Regions from separate parts of the Homo sapiens genome. Here regions 1, 2, 3, 5 and 6 are each linked to region 4. The links are contacts of gene promoters, found by promoter capture Hi-C in blood cells and fetal thymus (Javierre and others, 2016). All regions are on one chromosome and are shown on one strand. Each heading gives the region's core, a stretch centred on a gene start or on the middle of the fragment in contact. The rest is flanking DNA. Distances are from core to core; before and after follow the strand shown.

Evidence for each region. The method cuts DNA at HindIII sites, captures the fragments that hold promoters and counts their contacts. A CHiCAGO score of 5 or more calls a contact.
Region 1: a fragment that was not itself captured here is called in contact with the fragment with the promoter of TICAM2 in region 4 in 1 of 17 cell types (activated CD4 T cells); the score reaches 7.7 in activated CD4 T cells.
Region 2: a fragment that was not itself captured here is called in contact with the fragment with the promoter of TICAM2 in region 4 in 2 of 17 cell types (total CD8 T cells and total CD4 T cells); the score reaches 9.7 in total CD8 T cells.
Region 3: a fragment that was not itself captured here is called in contact with the fragment with the promoter of TICAM2 in region 4 in 1 of 17 cell types (M2 macrophages); the score reaches 5.9 in M2 macrophages.
Region 5: a fragment that was not itself captured here is called in contact with the fragment with the promoter of TICAM2 in region 4 in 6 of 17 cell types (activated CD4 T cells, M0 macrophages, total CD4 T cells and 3 more); the score reaches 10.1 in activated CD4 T cells.
Region 6: a fragment that was not itself captured here is called in contact with the fragment with the promoter of TICAM2 in region 4 in 6 of 17 cell types (total CD4 T cells, activated CD4 T cells, naive B cells and 3 more); the score reaches 11.5 in total CD4 T cells.

Annotation. Positions count from the first base shown.
Region 1 is chr5:113,548,361-113,551,905 of GRCh38, forward strand. It overlaps YTHDC2 (YTH N6-methyladenosine RNA binding protein C2), which reads left to right. Exons shown (of 30, transcript NM_022828.5): 11 at 181-307; 12 at 595-660. Among named protein-coding and RNA genes, the nearest start is that of YTHDC2, 36 kb to the left of the region's middle. The HindIII fragment of the contact is 573 bases long and covers 1,955-2,527 here.
Region 2 is chr5:113,578,448-113,581,651 of GRCh38, forward strand. It overlaps YTHDC2 (YTH N6-methyladenosine RNA binding protein C2), which reads left to right. Exons shown (of 30, transcript NM_022828.5): 24 at 1,139-1,248; 25 at 2,970-3,204. Among named protein-coding and RNA genes, the nearest start is that of YTHDC2, 66 kb to the left of the region's middle. The HindIII fragment of the contact is 5,766 bases long and covers 1-3,204 here.
Region 3 is chr5:112,900,852-112,904,584 of GRCh38, forward strand. REEP5 (receptor accessory protein 5) reads right to left here. Exons shown (of 5, transcript NM_005669.5): 3 at 1,529-1,667. Among named protein-coding and RNA genes, the nearest start is that of REEP5, 20 kb to the right of the region's middle. The HindIII fragment of the contact is 4,622 bases long and covers 1-3,733 here.
Region 4 is chr5:115,601,161-115,604,905 of GRCh38, forward strand. TICAM2 (TIR domain containing adaptor molecule 2) reads right to left here and starts at 1,319. Exons shown (of 2, transcript NM_021649.7): 1 at 937-1,319. All of the region lies in intron 3 of TMED7-TICAM2 (TMED7-TICAM2 readthrough), which reads right to left. It overlaps TICAM2-AS1 (TICAM2 antisense RNA 1), which reads left to right and starts at 995. Exons shown (of 3, transcript NR_109875.1): 1 at 995-1,300; 2 at 1,886-1,996. RefSeq lists enhancers at 641-720, 669-1,191 and a silencer at 811-1,310. The HindIII fragment of the contact is 4,479 bases long and covers 148-3,745 here.
Region 5 is chr5:112,970,414-112,974,170 of GRCh38, forward strand. It overlaps LOC105379126 (a long non-coding RNA gene), which reads right to left. Exons shown (of 2, transcript XR_948679.3): 2 at 1,398-1,540. Among named protein-coding and RNA genes, the nearest start is that of DCP2, 4.5 kb to the right of the region's middle. The HindIII fragment of the contact is 1,357 bases long and covers 916-2,272 here.
Region 6 is chr5:112,986,875-112,990,369 of GRCh38, forward strand. All of the region lies in intron 2 of DCP2 (decapping mRNA 2), which reads left to right. Among named protein-coding and RNA genes, the nearest start is that of DCP2, 12 kb to the left of the region's middle. The HindIII fragment of the contact is 3,500 bases long and covers 161-3,495 here.

The DNA.
Region 1 (3,545 bases), core at 991-3,490, 2.1 Mb before region 4:
ACAGATTGCTGTAAGTGATCTAAGTTAAGGGTTATGTAGTGCTGTCATTATGTAGTTAAGGAGCAACTCTCAGGCTAATTATCCTGAAACTCAGTTCTGCTATTTCAGATTTTTTAAAGAATGAAAATGGTTTGAAGTACTTTGGAAATTTAAGTTTTATTTATCTTTTCCTTTTTTTAGTTGATTACAGACATAGTGAAACCAGTGCAACAGCTCTGATGGTTGCTGCAGGACGTGGCTTTGCAAGTCAAGTAGAACAGTTAATCAGTATGGGAGCCAATGTCCATAGTAAAGCATCAAATGGCTGGTAATTTTAAACTACGTTGATTCTTCATATATCTTTGTATAGCTACACATATCTTTTTTTGTTTTCTTATGTTTGTCTTTATATTAAAAACTATTGTGTAATAATTGCTGGTGAATTTCTGTTTTAATGGGTTAATAATTTTGAATGACTTGTTTTTTAACTATAATTTATCTTATTTTTTATTTAAAAATTTTTTTGAAAAGACAGGGTCTTGATGTTGCCCAGGCTCATCATGAACTAGTTTTACAATTTTGATGACATCTTATATATCCTTTGAATTTTGGCAGGATGGCATTGGATTGGGCTAAACACTTTGGGCAGACTGAAATTGTGGATCTTCTAGAATCTTACAGGTAAAACTTTGTACTATTTTAAATTAATTCTACCGTCTCTTAAAAAAGAGCTTCACCATATAAATTATGGGCTATTCAAATGTAGACCATTTATAGTCTTTTATCCAGAGATTTTTTTTTGTGATTCTAAGGAAATTTTCTGTCTGATCTACCATGGTATAATATTTGTCTTATTTTAAGAAATCAGTAGAGGGATTTCCAATTAAACATGGTAGGTACAACATAAGTATCTCTGCATTTTCTCAAACCTTTTACATTTCTCAAAACCTCACTAAAATGACAATGAAGCAATATAAAGAAATTTAAAAGGTGTAAACCAAAGTCAAAGAGAATGGAAGAGGACAGGGCAACTGATAGAAGATGTTAATTTTGGGATGATAGATAGCTGATTGATTGACTTAGCAGAACTAAGAAAACTCACAGTGCCAATGAGAAACACTCATTTTAGCTTTGAAACTCCTTAGAGGCTTGTTCAGTGGCCTTTGAGTGAAGCAGTAAAAAAAGAGTTAGTTATCAAAGAGAAAACTTAGAATACAAAACTATAATAAAAGATATTGCATTCATGCAATAAAAAGTGTGCTATCAAAAAGGAACAGAACACAAATCTTTGTTCAGATTTTGTCTTCATGAGGCCTACCCAAATTTGCCGTATCTGATATTACAATCTACCCCCCACGCAATGTCCATCCTCTTTAACCTGTTCTACGTATTCTTTTTTTCTCCAGAAGCCCTACCACCCTCTGATACACTATGTAATATACTTGTTCACTGTTCTATTGATTTATTGTCTATCTCTTCTCCCTACCAGAATGTAGTAAGCTTATTGTCTGCTTGTTCAAGAACAGCAACTAGATGTAGTAGATGTGCAGTGAGTGTTTGTTGAATGAATGAATAAATAAATAATTCTTGTAAATTAAAAATATGATAGCAGAAAAAAAGAAGAGTTACAAGATAAAGTTTAGAAAATTGCTTTCAGAGCAGGAAAATTGTAGAAAAAACATAAGAAAATTTGCTTCCTATGTACTCCTTTATTAGGAAACTGTTGGAGAATGTGCTTCACAAAAAAGAAGTAAAAAGAAAAACAAAAATTGGGGGAGAAAAAAAAAACGGGTAAAACCGGGCAGGTACAGCACAGGGGATAGGTGAAAGGAATGCTCAGGATGCTGGTACAGAGGATTGTTTTGATGACACCTGTGTCTAGTAGGCCTGATCGCATAGGAACAGAAGATGTGGGGCTCTAGAGGGAGGTCTCTGTGGGGGAAAAATTTACCTGGCATTGTCAATCATATTAAAAAGCTTTATGAATCTGTTAGATAATTTGGGAAGAATTACTATCAGATCACAGAAAACTAAGCAAATAAAAATTAGACAGTTGTTACTCTAGGAAAAACAAAAAGTTACACAAGAAAGGAGGTATAATCATAGTATATTATTAGGCTAAGCAGTAAATGTTTACCAGTCATAGTAAAGTAAAGGCTGAATGAAGATTTAACAAAAATTGTAGGAACTGGTGTGGGTGGAAAGTGTAGGGAAGTGGAAGTGGTAACCTCATTTTTCATTAGTTGGAGGTTCGCAGATAATGACTACGTTGTTAAAACAATAAATAGCAGAAAATGAATGTTGCTTAGAAATATGACAGCAAATACTAAAAAGGAATGGCTAAAACAATAGAATAGTCCTAAGCAGTGTGACTAGGAGTTTTTGTTATAACTTCTATAAAACCATTTACCACCACTATGTATATGTATTGCTTTGATTTAGCAAAAAAAGAAAAATCACAAGGGAATCCTGTAAAACCAATCGAATTAATTGTCTTTTAGATAGAAATTTTAGATAAATTTACATTAGATATTTAAATAAATTATGAAGCTTTCAGATTAGATATTTAAAGAAAATTTTGAATATATGTTTTATAATACATTGAAAGCTTCTGTTTTCAACCTTTAGAGACTCAAAAAAGAAAACAATGGAGCCTGAAGTTAAAATATATTAAAATATCTGTTATTCAAGAGCATATAAAATGTTTTATTTGACCTGGGTTTTTGTACTTAATTTTATAGATGTAAAATTGGAAATGTAGTCTCAGACATTTGAAATTAGTTGTGACATTGAGTCTCAAAATTCTTGGTAGGTTTAAATGCTATTTCTGATATGGTAGGTTTAGTTGTCATTTCAATAGTAGCACCCAGAACTTGCAGTCCTTTTATTGTTAACACTTTGAATGTTCCAGACATTCTTATGGTGTTAAGTAAAGCTCACTAGATACTGCAGGTTACCAGGTAAAGCGTTTATCTGGATAATATTTTAATTATCCTGGCTAACTGGGCTTTCTTTTTATTTGATAGATCATATTATCAATTATAAATTTCAGGTATTTAAAATTGAATATATTATTATGTTTACTGGATTATTGATAATTTATATCCAAAAGTTATAGCTTTAAACAGAATATAATGTCTTCTTCATTTATGTGTTAAAAATTAAAAAACAATAAACTTACAGTGTTTTAAAGTAGATCTTAAAATTTATAAGAGCTGAGAACACATGGACACAGGGAGGGGAACATCACACACCAGGGCCTCTTGAGGGGTTCCGGGATAGGGGAGGGATAGCATTAGGAGAAATACCTAATGTAAATGAAGGGTTGATGGGTGCAGCAAACTACCATGGCACGTGTATACCTATGTAACAAACCTGCATGTTGTGCACATGTATCCCAGAACTTAAAGTATAATAAAACATTTACAAGAGCCAATTATTAAGTTGTAGAAGTTTAATATTTTTCCCATTGAAAATAGTCTTACGTTATTTTTCTGCTAAATTCTTTAAGAGAGATTGGATTTATTTGAACTTCCTAGAAATTCTGTTGATAATTGCTAGTGATA
Region 2 (3,204 bases), core at 285-2,784, 2.0 Mb before region 4:
TTGTTCATATAATCAGAAATTATTTAGCCTATTGATGTGGTATATAGATTTTCTTATGGAACTGCTATTTTGTTCTGAGAATAAACCTTCCTTGGACTAAGTGTGATTTATTACATTGCTGGATATTTTTCTAACATTTTATTTAAAACTTATATTTATCTTCATTGGGGAGGCTGACCTGTAGGGTTTGTGTGGTGTGTGCTTGTACATATTCCGGTATGTAGGTTTTAGGTGTTAATCAGGTTTTGGGTTAGGTTTAGATTTGTCTCATTACAGGAATGGTCATTATTTGATTCCATGCAAAATTGAGAGACTTGGTATTCTGGATTTCTTTGTTGATGTTCTTTAAGGATATCTCTGATTTCTTCCTTAAATATATTTGTGTTCTTCTAGTTCCTCTACTTTCAGTTTTAGTAATTTTCGTGTAGAAAATAATTAATTTCTTTGAAGATTTCAAATTTATTATTTATACATACTGTATGTTTTAGCCTATATCAATTTCATATTTTATAATGCATTCTGTATTTTTATAATCTCATTTTCACCTAATTTTGTAGATAGATTTTTGCTTTCTTCTTCCTTTATTAAATTTACAGAGGGTTATCTATTAATATTTTCAAAGAACTGGGTTATAGTTTTAATTACCATTTTGTCTTTCTAATTCATCTTTTTATAATTTTCTATTTTCTTCTACTTTTCTTTGGGTTTTATGTTATTTTTCTTAGATATATTTAGCTGTATACTTTTTCTTTTTAAAACTGACCTGTGACTTTATAAGAGTATTGCTTTGGGCACCTTTCATAGTTTTTGATATGTAGTATAGTCATTCCTTCCTTGAATTATGTTATTTGTTTCTTTTTCATCCAGTTATTAAAGATTGTGCTTCAAATTTTATATTCTTGTCTTTTTTATTTTGTTGCATTGTGATGAGACATTATAGTCTTCAAATGGTCCCTTTTTTTTCCTTTTAAATAAATACTGAGATTTAACATGTGATCTTTTGAGTTTGAAGGACTTCCCACACAAATTGTTGTATGTCAGGAGGGTTTGTGTATATGAAGCGTATTTATTCTTCTTAGTTTTTTGCCATAACGTAAGAAGGTAAAAGTGATTTTTTTTTCATTATGTACTTGGACAGTGGATGGCATTCCCAATGACAGTAGTGATAGTGAAATGGAGGACAAAACTACAGCTAATTTGGCAGCCTTGAAACTTGATGAGTGGCTCCATTTCACACTGGAGCCAGAGGTAAGTTGCTTTCAAGTAGTGTAATAAATTTCTTTCATTCAGTTAGTGTGAATTGATATATAATATGATAAAATTTTTTTCTTTACTATTGAGCCCTTAGTATCAGAGAATATAACTTGTTTTTCAGTTTTCTTGGGGACCTCATTCATTCTCTTCTGTATTGGGGTTTATTCCAACAGAGGACTTGGAAAACCTAGTTGTGGCTCATTATTTAAGCAAGGTAATTGTCTTAGTTTGTTGTTGCTGCTATAGTAATTTATAAAGAACAGAAATTTATTTCTCACAGTTCTGAAGGATCTTAAGTCTGAGATCAAGGTGCTGACGTCGGTTGAGGGCTGCTGGACCCTGCCTCCTATAGAGTGGAGGAATACTGTGTCCTCATATGGCAAAAGGCAGTAGGGCAAGAGGGCATGAACTCCCTCCATCAAGCTCTTTTATAAGGATACCTAATCCCATTCATGAAGCCAGAGCCCTCATGACTCAATCACCCCTCAAAGGCCAACACCTCCCATTACTATTGCATTGGAGGTTAAGTTTCAACATGAAGTTTTGGAGGGGACAAAAACTTCAAACTGTAGCAGTAATCCTTGAGTATTTCTGGATATATAAGAAAGTATTGAGTATTGGGTACACAAGAACTCCCTTTATTTTGTGTAACTGTGTTTTCTGAGAGAAAGATATGATTCCATACTATTTTCTCTTTGCATATACTTCTGAATTGGGGGTTTGAGGGAGGATGAATGTTTCTTTTCAAATTACAAATTTTCATGACAAAGCCTCCCCTTGATTCTATCTCTACTGTCCAAGATCATTCTCTATACATTTTTGGGAGGCGTCAAGCTGTCAATAGTTAACACTGGCTAGGTTTACTATTTTAGCATCCATTCATTCATCACTTCAACCTACTACACTCTCACTTCCATTCCCACCAATTCATCACTTCACTGAAACTGTACTTGCCAAGGTCAACTGTGTCCTTCATGTTGTCAAAGTCAGTCTGCTGTCTGGGATAAATGTGACCTCTATTATTTATCACTATTGTCCATATCCTCCTTTTTGTACTCCTGCCCTTCCCCAGTTTTCTTCCTTACTCCTGCCCCAAATTCTTTGTCACTAGTTACTGTAACATTAATCTTTCTTAATTCTTTCTCTGTAGTCAGTCCTTCTTAGTTGTTTCACAGACCCTGCTGTGTGTGTTTGTGCCTTAAATTTTAAGTTCTCTAGCACTTTGTGTCTTACTCTTATCTTCTTACTCCCTCTATACATTCCCTGGGGACTTTATCTCTATGTGTATATTTTGCAATCATTTAGGAACTGGTGACTTTCAAGTTTAGAGCTCTGTCTTAGACCTTTCTGTGAATCCAGCTGCCTTCAGGACATGATCATTTGGATGTTCTACAGGCACTAAAATAACACTATGAGCTACATATATTTTTATTTACCCTGCTGCTACTTTTCCAGTATTAATCACACTCTGCCACAACTATTGTTTACTGTCTTTCTTATTAGACTATTTAATTTGATTTTGTGTCTTAGTGCCTAAAATATTATAAATAAATTTTATTTCATTCATGCATTAAAAATAATGAAATTAGTAGTAAATTATATGAAATGTGAAATAAGTTTGTTGGAAACAGTTGCAAACTAATGGAAACTAATCAACACATAGGTGTTTTGCATATGTGATATTCATTTGCTTGTATCTATTTGAACTATTACAGGCAGCTAGTTTATTGCTGCAGCTCAGACAGAAGTGGCATAGCTTATTTTTACGCCGAATGAGAGCTCCATCTAAACCTTGGTCTCAAGTTGATGAAGCTACCATAAGAGCAATTATAGCTGTTTTAAGCACTGAAGAACAGTCTGCAGGTTTACAACAACCATCTGGGATTGGCCAAAGGCCAAGGCCTATGTCTTCAGAAGAGCTTCCTTTGGCCTCATCTTGGAGGTCAAATA
Region 3 (3,733 bases), core at 827-3,326, 2.7 Mb before region 4:
TTTAGAGATGGAGTCTGGCTCTGTTGCCTAGGCTGGAGTGCAGTAGTGTGATCTCGGTTCACTGCAACCTCTGCATCCCAGATTCAAGCAGTTCTCCTGCCTCACCTCCTGAGTAGCTGGGACTACAGGTGCACTCTGCCACACCCAGCTAATTTCGTTTGTATTTTAGTAGAGACAGGGTTTCACCGTGTTGCCCAGGCTGGTCTCGAACTCCTGAGCTCAGGCCATCTGCCCGCCTCGGCCTCCCAAAGTGCTAGAATTGCAGGCATGAGCCACCACGCCTGGCCAAGAGTACATTTCAAAAGAAAAACAACACAATCAACTACAAGTTTTGGTCAGGAGCAACAATATTAGAACTGCTGACCAAGAATTTTAAACTGGGGAGCGGTAACCATACTAAAAGAAATGAGAAAATATTAGCAATATGAAACAAGGACAAGAAGAAGAGAGCCAAGCAAAAACATTAGGTGTGAACAATATAATAGTTGAAATGAAGAACACGGTATATAGCAGGAATAACAGAATGGTTATAATGTAATCATGGAGTACAGTTGAAAATTAGATGGTCAGATTGAGTCCGGGCACGGTGGCTCACGCCTGTAATCCCAGCACTTTGGGAGGCCGAGGTGGGTGGATTGCTTAAGGTCAGGAGTTCGAGAGCACCCTGGCCAACATGGTGAAACTCTTTCTCTACCAAAAAAAATACAAAAATTGACCAGGCGTGGTGGCACATGCCTGTAATCCCAGCTACTCGGGAGGCTGAGGCAGGACAATCACTTGAACCCAGGATGCGGAGGTTGCAGTGAGCGGAGATTGTACCATGGCACTCTAGCCTGGGCAACAGACCAAGAGTCCATCTCAGAAAAAAAAAAAAGGAGGTCAGATTGAGAAATCTCCCAGAAGAAGTACAAATAAATAGATTTTTAAAAAAACCAACCCTGTCTCTACTAAAAATACAAAAATTAGCCAAGCATGGTGGTGGGCGCCTGTAATCCCTGCTACTCAGGAGGCTGAGGCAGGAGAATTGCTTGAACCTGGGGGGTGGAGGTTGCAGTGAGCCAAGATCATGCCACTGCACTCTAGCCTGGGCGACGGAGCAAGACTCCATCTCAAAAAAAGAAAAAAAAAAAAAAAGGCTAAGACCAAAGACAAAAAGAATTATATATCCATAATTAACCAGAACTAAAACTCAAGATACTACCATTTATGATGGTGGTTGGAGTGATGGAGCTTCCTATATTTAATTTCCTATATCTAAATTTCTTTAGATAAAATTGTTTAAAAGAGTAGCCAGGTGCAGTGGTGTGCGCCTATGGTCCCAGCTACTCGGGAGGCTGAGGCAAGTGGCTTGCTTGAGCATTTTTTTGTTTTTGTTTTTTTTGAGACAGAGTCTCGCTCTGTTGCCCAGGCCTGTCTTCTTGTTTATAATCTGAGACAGAGCCACAGATGCACAACATTCAAGCATTTATTCCTACTTCTTCTATACAGGTACTGAGATGGAGTTTTAGTGGTAGCAAGACCAACATACCTTCAGCATGTAGTAGAAGGGGAACCATGACAGGAAGATATCAGAGAAGAATTCAGCAATGCTGAACACACCATACACTACCCAGTAGGTCAGCCACTGGGTATCATCTTCTTTGTTGGGACTCTCTATAGCTTTAATTCTGAAAGGCAGTACAAAAGAAAGTATATCATTTGGTAAGATATCAATGAAAGATTTTCAAATACACTTTCATAACCTGTCCTCTGATACCACTGAGAAACTTAGGCACATGTAGGCACTGTGTCACTAGATGCAAGAGTACAGCTTAAAGACTGGAAGCAATGTGGATATCGGGACAAGCCATTATAACCACTTGTTTCTAGTCTCCTGGTCACCAGAGAAACCAGCACCAGCTGTTACTGCCCTGGATCTCCACCCTGCCAAAGCCTCCCCACAAGTCCTAGAATATACCACTAGTGACTGGGAGCTAGAGCAATTTCCACTCCCAAGCTGGGTCCTGCCACGAGGGATATATCAGGAAGAATTCTCTCGTGATAACCAGGTTCTTATGTACTTTTAATAATTGAGATATATCATGGGTGAATAAGAATTTCCCATAAAGCAACATTTGGAACATAGGTTAGGTACTGCCCAAAATCCACAGCATATTTTATAGTAAACGGGTGAAAACAAACCTCATGGTGTCTATTTAGTTCAGAATGTCTTTAACTGATCCACAGGCTATGGACTTTCCTCCTCTCCTCAGTTAATAACAGGACTTTCCCAACCCTAACTATTGCTTAAACAAAATTCATTCTGCAAATGGATGGAAATACATTTAAAATAATTTTCTAAATCACAGAAATTTCCTTCAGTCCTAGGAATCTCATTATTCTAAACCTGAAGCTCCACAATTTCTTATCCTAACAGATCTAGATATTTATCGTAACTGAGCTGGACTGAAACAGTAAAATAAAAGAACTCTGAATCTTGTTTAGCCTATGAAACAGGTTAACTACTGAAAATACATTGACAGGGAGCTAAGCTATGAGGATGCAAAGGCATAAGATACAATGGACTATGGGGACTTTGGGGAAAGGGCTGGGGGTAGTGAGGGATAAAAGACTACACATTGGGTACAGTGTACCCTGCTCAGTTGATGGGTGCACCGAAATCTCAGAAATTGCCACTAAAAACTTATCCATGTAACCAAACGCCACCTGTTACCCAAAAACCTATTGAAATAAAAAATTTTCAAAAAGCAAATACATTGGCTACTCCATAACATCAGCTCCCCAAAGAGACAGTCAGGCTGCTAAATCATGCTCAGTCACTCACTAAGAAAGCCCTTGTACAGTTAATTAGAAGCAGCTATGTGTGTGAGTTTTAGAAAATAACCAAAAGGGGAAAAATTGTAGCTCAATGAGATGATTACTAATGAGGAAGACAGAGAGAGGAACAAGTAATAAGGTGAATGTTGCTTTGAACTTCAAGACTAGGCAAAATTTTTATTTTTTTGAGACAGGGTCTCTGCACAGGCTGGAGTGCAGTTGCACAATAATAGCTCACTGCAACCTCAAACTTCTGGGCTTATGTAATTCCCTTCACTTCAGCCTCCCAAGTAGCTGGTACTACAGGTACACACCACCACACCTAGCTACTTGCTAAATTTTTAGTAGAGACAAGGTCTCACTGTGTTGCCCAGGCTGGTCTCGAACTCCTGGCCTCAAGCAATCCTCCTGCCTTGGCCTCCCAAAGTGCAGTCTGGTGGCTCCCACACCCAGCCCCAAATATTTCAAAGTACAAGAATCATATAAAATGAATTTAAGAGAGCTGATTATTAAAAAATGGCTTGTAATGTATGCACAAAGTCTGTATTTTTTTAGCTTCCTTCAGATAGAAGCTGGCGAATGTAATAGAAGGCCAAAGGAAAAGTGTAGACAAGCATGTTAACCAAAGAACACAGTATATCCTTTATGTGTAAGATTTCTTCTCCCGCTGTGTTTCATTTGGTATAGTATGGCTTATCCATATTTAATTGGATTTATTTAATTATTAGTATAATAAAAATTTGTTTCCTGTACATTCATTCTGGGCAGAGGAGATACGTAATTACATTTCACTCAAGGTCTTAGTTTTGTGAACGCAATAGCTCACAACTATGTACTTCCAAAAGAAGCAACTCTCAGGACACACCTGGGAATTAAACAGTCTTTTCTAGAATATGACGTAAAAACCTCAAAATGT
Region 4 (3,745 bases), core at 69-2,568:
ATGTAAGGATTGATGGGCTGATAGGTGCAGCAAACCACCATGGCACACGTTTATCTATGTAACAAACCTGCAAGTCCTGCACATGTATCCCAGAACATAAAATTAAATTAAACAATAAAAAAATAGAAATACAGATTCTGGAAATCAAGCTTACCAAATTAAACCTTCAGAGGTGGGGGGATGCATTTTAAACAAAAGTCCCAAATGCGTCTTACCATCAGGCTTGTTTGAAAAACACTAATCTAAGGAATACTAAACACTTGGAGAAGGACAAGTTCTTCTCCTGTGTAGACGTGCAATGTGGGTTCAGGGGATGACACTTCAACTCTATATAATGGTGTATTTTTACCTCCAGATCATATAGCCTTTCCCACCCTTGCTTTTCAAAATTAAAAGGATAAATTAAAAAATAATAATAAATATGAGAATATTTTAAAATACTTTCTTTAAGAAGTTTACTACCGTGGAAAGCTGGAGAGGTCCTAATACACTGAAAACTAGCTCACAGCTGCCAGTCAAATTATTTTTATCCAAATTAGCTTTGCACAAAAAGCCAAGTAGGAAAACCCATGCCAAAACCTCCAGCACTGGCTCTGTGTGCCTGGCAGGGGCTCATGCAGAGCCTTTAGAGCATTTAAGACTCTGGGCTATTTGCTTATGGTTCTGAGGTGTCTTTTCGAAAATGGGTTTTCTAGTCAAAATGAAACAAAAAGGCAGACAGCTGTGTGGATTTTCCCTTCAGAGTAAGCCAAGTGACGGAAAGGCCTGCCCGCCCCGCTGGGGACAACAGCGCCAGCACCCGCGCCGTCGGGTCGGGTAGGCTGGGGAGGTAGCGCAGGCGGCCTGGCCCCCAGACCACCCCGCGCCCCTGGCGGCCTGGCCCCAGCCCACCCCGCGCCCCCGGCGGCGGCCCCCGCCCTAGCGCCCGGTACTTGCCTGCAGGCGAGCGCCACCACAGTCAGCCCGCGGCTTTTCTGTCTTCCTTTCTGGCCCAGCGAGAGCGCCCAGGGGGTGGGCGTCTTGCCCCGGGCGTCGAGAGTTTGGGGCCGTCCCGTACGCGGCGCGCCGCAACCCAGTCCCCGCGACCACAGCAGCCTGCTCCCCACCGCGCTTGCAGAGCCCGGACGCGCGTGAGTCGGGGGCCCGCAGAGGCCTCACCCTTGGAGGTCGCCGCTTGTCAGGCCTGACTGCTGTTGGCGCCCACCCCGCCGCCCCCGAGGGGCCGCTCGAGGCCGGACTGCTGCTTTGCCGTGGCAGGCCCCACCCGGGACGTGGCGCTGCGGGCCGGGGCGGTCCAGCTGTGAGTCAGGGGTTAATGTGGCGGGATAACTCTCTGCAGAGGGAAGGAGCTCGCAAAGAAGGGTGGAGGAGGGGAAACCGCAATGGGGAACTGTCACCGAGGCTAGTGGACTCTCCCTGCGCTTTTTTTTTTTTTTTTTTTTTTGGCATGTACCCCAAAAGCCAGAGGTCGAGGCCCAGAAAAATCTGGAAAGGAATTCCACCGTGTTTGCTCCTTACAGACCAGACAAACCGTAGATCTTTCAGAGGTACAGCGACTCTCCTGGTTCCCTAAGATAGTCTCGACTTTTCCTTTCCCTTTGCGGCCCTCTCACTTGACTACTGCAGCCAACCATACCCCTGATTAGGGGGTGCAGCACATCAGCCTCTGCCCCCAAAAACTACCCTGCGAAAGATCCTTTTTCTCAGGTTCGTTCTCCACAACCGAACAGATTGGAACTCCACTGAATAAGAGAGAACAAAAAAGCAATTAGTTAAATGAAGCGTAAAGAAGCCTTATAAAGCCCCATTGCTGCCTCAGGCACCCAATCTAGTCATAACCTAAGAGGTCCAGTTCAGAAATCTCCCCTCCCCTTTTAATTCTCAGGCAATCCCTACTCCCTGCCAAAGGAGAACCCAGTTACTGAACATCGGATGAGACCATGGATAGTAAATTGGGAGTGAAGGTCCATACCTGGGTCTCAGAAGCACAGTACAGGTAAAGCTAAGAGTTATTTCCTCCTTCTCTTTCCCCATCCAACAACAGGATGCCTTACTGAAGGTAGGCACTTCAGGTAGTAATTACTTAGTGAAATGCCGCCAATGTAGTCAGAAATACCGTATTATGTACCGTGTCAACACAATTCATTATTCACGGAGTTGATTCTCCAACCACTGCACCTCCCAACAATTCTACCTGAACTCTTTGGGTAAGCAGTGGCCTCCTAAATCCAACTGATACTTTTGTTGCCCTCATTTTTCCTGGGAGTCTCTTTGGCGATTGACAAAGTCGACCATTGTTTCCCAACACTCTGTTTCCTTGATGTTGACAACCCCACTTTGCCTTTATGCTCATCCTGCTTGTTAAAATTCTTTCAGGCCTGTTGGGAGGCCGAGGCGGGTGAATCACGAGGTCAGGAGATCGAGACCATCCTGGCTAACACGGTGAAACCCCGTCTCTACTAAAAAATACAAAAAATTAGCCGGGAGTGGTGGCAGCTGCCTGTAGTCCCAGCTACTTGGGAGGGTGAGGCAGGAGAATGGCTTGAACCCGGGAGGCGGAGCTTGCAGTGAGCCGAGATCGCGCCACTGCACTCCAGCCTGGGCCACAGAGTGAGACTCCGTCTCAAAAAAAAAAAAAAAAAAAAAAAATTCTTCTTTCAGTTTCCTCTGCCTGTTCCTCTTTCTCTGGCAACCCTTCAAAATCAGAGCTTTTCACATTTTCCCACTGAAATACCACCAATGACAGATTCCATAAACACGTACTTCCCTATTCATCACTTAGGTTGCATACATAAAAGAGCCTGAAGTCACTAGTGTCATGGGCAAATTTACTTGAACTGTTCCATCTTCTTGTAAATTGCTCCAAATTTTGCATTGTTCTTCATAATACAGTCACATGTACTAAAAAAAATCTTAAATTGGTTACAAGTTTAATTGCTTAACATTTTCTCTCCAAATGTTCAAGAAAATGCATCAATCACTTACGCCACATATGTTTAGAATATATTCTATGTGCTAGACATTAGGGATATTGTGCGAACAGGAGACACAGTCCTAGTTCTCATGGAGATTTTATAGTCTAATCTGGGAGACAGACAGATATGTAAAGAAGTGAGACAATTTCAGATCCGTGCATTGCTAATGGGGACAGCGAATCTTCCTAGTGGGCAATTTCTAGCTACATACCTGGTTATTCACATTCAAGAAAGGAGGGGACGACATGACAAACTGATAAATATACTGACTTACAGGCAGTGTCTAATGGATTGTCCAGCTTTTAGGTTCTTGGAAAGAACAAAATGGAAAATTTGTAAAAGATCTGTCCGTGAGACTTACAGATAACCCTCTTGGAGTGGTGAGGGCATGTGAAGATATTCATATCCCCCATAAGTGCCTAACAGGATGCATCAGGTGGAGAAGATTTTCAATAATAAGCGGAACAAGATGAATTGTCTGGTAGATGTCAGTCTTTTTCTCCAGCCAACCCAGGGCTTGGTTAATGGGCCCATGTACCAAGTGGCTATCAAAGCAGTGACAGAGGTTCAATAGTATGGTCTTCTCCTTACCTACATTATTTGGCTACTATCATTGCCGAATGCCCAACCTGGCAACAACGTGGAGTGTGACTACATTTCCAAGGCTGGGTTCCTAATATGGCATTACTGTCAATGAGACTTGCTGGCAACCCGGTAACATGATGGTTACATTGGGCAATTTCCATAAGAAATAGGTAGCACTTTGTCTT
Region 5 (3,757 bases), core at 344-2,843, 2.6 Mb before region 4:
ACAACAACAACAAAAATACTAGAATATAAAGGCTTTTTCTTTCTTTCACAGTTTCTCTCTTCACTTATGGTGTTTTTGATATTTAATGTCATTCTAAATAAAGATTAAAATTAAAATTAAGTAAAATTAAATTCATTCTAAGTAAAATTAAAATCATTACAAAGACTTTTTACCATCTTTATATTATGCAATGCTGGCTTTTTTTTTTTTTTTTCTTTTTTATTTTTTTTTTTGAGATGGAGTCTCGCTATGTCGCCAGGCTGAAGTGCAGAGATGCTATCTCAGCTCACTGCAATCTTTCCTCCCGGATTCAAGTGATTCTCCTGCCTCAGCCTCCCGAGTAGCTGAGATTACAGGCATGCACCACCACACCCAGCTAATTTTTGTATTTTTAGTAGAGACAGGGTTTCACCATATTGGCCAGGATGGTCTCGATTTCCTGACCTCATGATCTGCCCACCTCAGCCTCCCAAAGTGCTGGGATTACAGGTGTGAGCCACTGCGCCCAACCACAATTTTGGTTTTAAATGCAAATATAAGAACATTTAACTTGTACGTGGAATCACTGAAATTACATAATTCTTATTTCATACTTTGTACATGTATGATATATTTCATTGTTACCAGAACAGTCAAAATGCTGTACGAAAGTCAACTGTTTTTACGTCACTTCTTGATATGCACATACATATTCTACCACACTCTCTACCTTCTTATTGATGAGGAAAAAACTAAAAAGAAAAGGAAAAGATGGGTTGCTCGATCTTCCCCTTTCCTTCTATGTCATCATTTTCAGCATAAGGGGTTGGCTAAATCAGGAAAGCAATAGGAAAGGATATGATAGAGTTTCTTGGTTCTTTGTGTTTTTAGACTGCCATTGTCTTCTTGCATTAGAACAAGTTCTGATACACAGGAAGCTTGACCTCCTAGGGCTGACAGCGACCCCACCTACTCAGTTCCTATGTGCCTATGTTGTTCTTACTCTGAATCTTGCTGAACTTTCATGCATTGTGAGTTCAGTGAAATTCTATTTAAATAGGACAATGCAAATGCTATATGCAAATGGCATGGCAAAGAGTGAGTGGACATGCATATTGCACGTCTCGGCTCTGCTCATGCTCTATTGTCCCTCCAATTTTACTTACAAAACACAAGTTCAAAAACAAAATTGAGAATTTCAAGATGGTAACAGCAGAGCATTAAACCAAACATGGGGCCTTTCTGAGTGTAGGGTTCTGTGCAACTATACGGTTTATACATACACACACATGCAGCTGGCCCTGGGTAAATGAGTGCTGGGCATGCAAACAAGAATGACCACTACAACCTGCATTTACTGATTATGGAAAAGGGTTTGTGTGTAAAGAGAAAAAAAACCCAACAACAAAAAAACAAGATACTTTATGCAGCAAAAGTTTATTTTTTGCTCATGCAGAATCTGGAGCAAATGCTCCAGGGTAGCTCTCCTCCAAGCAGTACACTCAAGGGTCTGTGCTTTTTCCAGTGTGACTCCACTATCTAAAGAGTTCTTTGCTTTCAGCTGGGAAGAGAAAAGGGAGAAATAAAAATTATGTGAAAATTACATAGAGCATTTCAGGAGCTGTGCTTTGAAGTTGGGTATATCACGTTTATCTTCATTCCACTGGCCAGAACTCAATTGCGTTTTTCCATCTAAATGCAAGGAGGCCTGTGAATCCAGGAAGAGGAAACGGGATTGGTGAGTGACATGGTTTGGCTGTGTCCCCACCCAAATCTCATCTTGAATTGTAGCTTCCATAATTCCCATGTGTCATGGGAGGCACCTGGTGGGAGGTAATTGAATAATGGGGGTGGGTCTTTCCTGTGCTGTTCTCATGACAGTGAATAAATCTCACAAGACCTGATGGTTTTATATAGGGGAGTTCCCCTGCACATGCTCGTTTTGCCTGCTGCCATGTAAAATATGACTTTGCTCTTCCTTTGCCTTCTGCCATGATGTGAGGCCTCCCCAGCCATGTGGAACTGAGTCAATTAAACCTCTTTCCTTTATAAATTACCCAGTCTCGGGTATGTCTTTATTAGGAGTGTGAGAACGGACTAATACAGTCAGCATCTAGTAAGACTGCCATAGAGATCAAGGGAGATTTTTGTTTCTTGGTAGATGTTACTAAAACATATTATATGCTGTGGGAGATATTATACTAGAAAGAGTGTGGGACTAACAGAAGGGGCAATTATGTATTACTCTATAAACATTGAGTTGAACCATAAGAACTTTGTAGGGATGTGAAGAAGCTTTGACAGACTTAATTTAACCTCACTCTATTTAATTATTTATTTATTTTTATTTTTATTTTTTTTGAGTCAGAGTCTCGCTCTGTCGCCCAGGCTGGAATGCAGTGGTGTGATCTCTGCTCACTGCAAGCTCCGCCTCCTGGGTTCACGCCATTCTCCTGCCTCAGCCTCCCAAGTACCTGGGACCAAAGGCGTCTGCCACCACACCTGGCTAAGTTTTTGTATTTTCAGTAGAGACAGGGTTTCACCGTGTTAGCCAAGATGGTCTCGATCTCCCGACCTCATGATCCACCCGCCCTGGCCTCCCAAAGTGCTGGGATTACAGGCGACCTCACTCAATTTAAAAGGCCAATAAGCAAGTTAAATATTTTTTAGGATTCAGTGACAGCTTATTTTGTTGTGAGATTATTATATTTGAATATTATAGTATAATATGCTGTACAGGCATAAACAATAGTTTTTGTGTCATTCTCCCTAAGGCAGAATTCCTGCTATGAGTTTAGAACTGAATGCTAGTCCTGACTCAATTATATACTGTTGCTTAATCATTAATCTTTGAGTCATTTAATCTTTATAAGCCTCATTAATCTTTGTCTATTTCATGTAGTAATAAAGACTAAATGAGGCCAGGCACGGTGGCTCATGCCTGTAATCCCAGTGCTTTGGGAAGTTGAGGAAGGAGGATTGCTTGAGGCCAGGAGTTTAGGACTAACATAGGCAACCTAGTGAGACCCCTGTCTCTACAAAGTTTTTAAAAAAATAATTAGCCAGGCCTGGTGGTGCGCACTTGTATTCCTAGCTACTTGGGAGGGTGAGGTGGGAGACTGAGCCCAGGAGTGAGCTATGCCACTGCACTCCAGCCTGGGCAACAGAGTGGGATCTTGTTCCAAAAAAAAGACTAAATGAAATAGCATATTTTAAAACTATAAAGGTTTTAATCAACCTAATTATTTAAAAATCAAATCAGTATTATAATTTAAGAACCCTAGCATCTCCTGTTCTCCTGTTACCTCAACTCTAAGCTCCCCTTTGTCATTCTCAGCTGGGTCCTGTGAACAATTAGATGGAATTGAGGCCTTGGTGTCCCTATTCACTTTAACAGGGATGGCACTAGGTTCAAGAGGCTGAAGAAGAGACCCAGAGCCAGCAAATGAGGCATATGGTTTATTGAGAGGAACTTGCATACAGAGCGGTCCACTAGAGGTGAGCTGGACATGAGAACAACATCACCTGCAGAAAGCATGCAGTTTATATAGCATTTTCATTTTGCACCCTCTCCCTAACAGCTTCCACCTGACAACTTTCATTTAGCCCAAAACAAAGGGCCTAGCCCTCCTGTGCAGCCTGCATTCCACAGGGCTCAGATGTTCCTCATAGATAAGGAATGAATCTTGGTTGTAACTGCAAACTCATTCAGGTTGTCTGCCACACAGGGTCATTCCCCTGGGTCTGCTTACGTTACTGCTGTCAGGTGCCTCTACCA
Region 6 (3,495 bases), core at 661-3,160, 2.6 Mb before region 4:
CACCTATGGTCCCATCTGCTCGGGAGGCTGAGGCAGGAGGGTCTCTTGAGCCTGGGAGGTGCAGGTTACAGTGAGCTGAGATGGCACCACTGCACTCCAGCCTGGACGGCAGAGTGAGATTCCGTCTCAAAGAGAAAAAAGTCATCTTTGCCTTCAGAGAAGCTTCTTTCCCCATGTACATATCAGGCAGAAACTTGTCGTGATTTATTAGTTATAAAAGATTCACATGAATATTTAACATTATAAAAGAAGCTATGTCATAAGGCAAATAATTGAGTAATTGCTAATGGTCCTGATAGTACATGTTTCTAGAATTTGGAAAAAAAAGTGGAAATATTTTAGGGAAAGCTATATTTTTGAGGGAATATAGGATTTTCTCAGTAGAAGTGGGGAATGTGTTTTAGGTAAAGAAAAATTGGAGATTTGAAAAAGGATAGCTCAATAAATAAATTAGTTTGAATTGAACAGCGTCCTCTCATGGGGCCATAATAGCAGATATGGTTGGAAAGTCATATGAGGTGATGATGGCATCGTATGGGTTCTTAAATCTTGAGCTAAAGCACTTTGATTTTTATTCCCCCCGCCCGCCCGACAAACCGAGACAGCCTCACTTTGTTGACCAGGCTGGAGTGTGGTGGTGTGATCTTGGCTCACTGCAGCCTCCACCTGCAGGGTTCAAGTGATTTTCATGCCTCAGCCTCCTGAGTAGCTGGGACTACAGGTGCAAGCCACCACACCTAGGTGCCTTTTTTTTTTTTTTTTTTTTTTTTTGTATTTTTAGTAGAGATGGGGTTTTGCCATGCTGGCCAGGCTGGTCTCAAACTCCTGCCGTCAAGTGATCCACCTGCCTTGGCCTACCAAAGTGCTGGGATTACAGGTATGAGCAACTGTGCCCAAACTGATTTTTATTCCATAGGTCTTTTTTTTTTCTCTCCTTTTTTGAGATAAGGTCTTGCCTTGTTGCCCAGTCTGGCTTGAATTTCTGGGCTTAAGCAGTCTTCCCGCATTTTTCCCAAGTAGCTGGGATTATAGGTGCTACCGCACCTGGCCAGGTTATTGTTTTTGACCATGACGTGTATGTTTAATGGATTTGTACCCACAAGTTCGTGTACTAGAACTAGAGTTGGAGTAGGGATAGGTGAGCTGAAATACCCTCATTCTCAGCTACCTATCACTTTCCTTTAGCCTCATGAAGTATGGAATCCTTCGGGCTCTGTAGAAAATGGATGAAACAGTGATTGTTCTGTAACAGTTAACTGTTAACCATAGCACATTTTTGAGCAACGGTAAAGAATATTACTCTGATCATTTGAAAACGGTATCCAAGGCCGGGTGCGGTGGCTCATGCCTGTAATCCCAGCACTTTGGGAGGCCAAGGGGGGCGGATCACTAAGTCAGGAGATCGAGACCATCCTGGCCAACACAGTAAAACCCCGTCTCTACTAAAAAAAAAAAAAAATACAAAAAATTAGCTGGGCGTGGTGGCGGGCGCTTGTAGTCCCAGCTACTCCGGAGGCTGAGGCAGGAGAATGGTGTGAACCCGGGAGGCAGAGCTTGCAGTGAGCCGAGTTCGCGCCACTGCACTCCAGCCTGGGTGACACAGCGAGACTGTGTCTTAATAAAAAAAAAAAAAAAAAAAAAAAATGGTATCCAAGATTTATTGGTTGGTCTGTTACATCACTTGACGTTCAGGGCAATAAATCCCTGAGCCATAGTAGTGGGACTACAAAGAAAACACTGATGGGAGACAGATTTCAAAGGAAGAAATGATCAAACCGTTTGATTAAATGTGTAGAAGTTAATGAGAAATCAGAGGGAAATAGAAATATATTGAGCACTATCTTTGTTAAAGGCCTTGGTGATAGGTTCTCTGGAGAAATCTTAGTAGCCTGGTTTTCAGGAGTTACAATCTAGTTAAGGAAACGTAACTAAGATAACCAAGTCCTCTTTTGCTTTGGTCATTTTGTATGGACTTACAGCCCTTCTAGGGCAACTTTACATACTTTAGGGTTTTGGATAACATTTTGTGTGTGTTTGCACATGAGTTTTACACTTTGCCTGCTATTACAAAACACCAACAACCTTTGTTTTAGGTATGTTTCATTTAGTTAACTAAGAATAGCTACATGGAGAAGGAATGTTTAATGTGGTACACTTCATTAAGTAACTTCATGGTTACTCTGTGCCAGGCCTTATGCAGTGAAGAGAGTAGACTCAGTATCTTCAAGAAGATGAGAAAAGACAGGAAAGGAAATGATTACAGTGCAGTGTGGTAGGATGTGATACAGAAGCACAGTGTTCAGTGGGAACAGAAGAGGGATACCCACTTACGATTTGGAGGCTGTGAGTTTGATTCCCATCTTGGCCACTCGAAAATCTTGGGTAGGTTATTTAAATCATCTTAGATGAGGATCCCAGTTTCTTCCTGACAAAGTTATTAATAGTGCCTAATTCAAAGGGTAAGTTTAAGAAACACATATATTTGTACATGTAAGTCGTTTACTTGGCACAGTGATCAATAAATGTTAATGTAATAAATGTTAACTATTACTCCAAAAAAAAAAAAAGATTTGGGAGCTAAATAGAAGCCTTCTCTGAGATAGTGATTTATGTGAGGAAAATCGGAGGAAATGAAAAAAGTTACTGTATTTTAGACTAAATGGGAAAGATAAGAGATGATGCTACAGAGTAATTCAGAGGCTAAAACATGTAGGGGTCTTGTAGGCCATATTTCTTTAAAAAACAGATTAAAAAAACTTATTTTGGGAAAAAACTTTCGGAGATGGCCAAAGAACATGACAACTGCCATCATACCCTTCATCTGTATTCATTCATTATTAACGTTTTCCTACATTTGCTTATTTCTCCGTATAGGGGTATTTTTCAAGACTGCTGTGAAATAGTGTGAACAGTGAACTGGGGGAAGGCAAGATTGGATTCTGAGAATCCAGTTAACATGCTATTTTATTAATTTACTAGAGAGAGAAAACCTGTGGTAGTAGAAATGAATAGAAGAGATCAAATTTGAGAGCTATTTAGGAGGTAAGATTGGTGATGATTTGGATATCTGAGGAGAAGTAGAAGAAAGGATGGTACCCAGGTTTCTAGTATGAGCAGTTGAGGATCCCAGTTTCTTCCTGAAAAATAAGGTTACTAATAGTGCCTAATTCAAAGGGTAAGTTTGAGAAGCACATATATTTGTACATGTAAATCGTTTACTTGGCCATCTCATTGGCAAGAAAATGAGAAATGTAGGGAATTGATGGGTTCTGTTATGGGCCAGTTGAGTTGATGGTACATGTGGGATATTGCAGTAGAGAAGACTGCATACTTTGATAAGAGCATACGTTCTCGAGCCACATCCTTTGAGTTAGCATCCTTTCTCTGCCACTTACTAGCTATGTATCCTTGGGTAAATTGTGGAACTTGTCTATGCCTCTGTTTTCTCTTTTGTAAATTATGCATAGTCTTTGATTTTTTTTCCTTCAGTAAGCA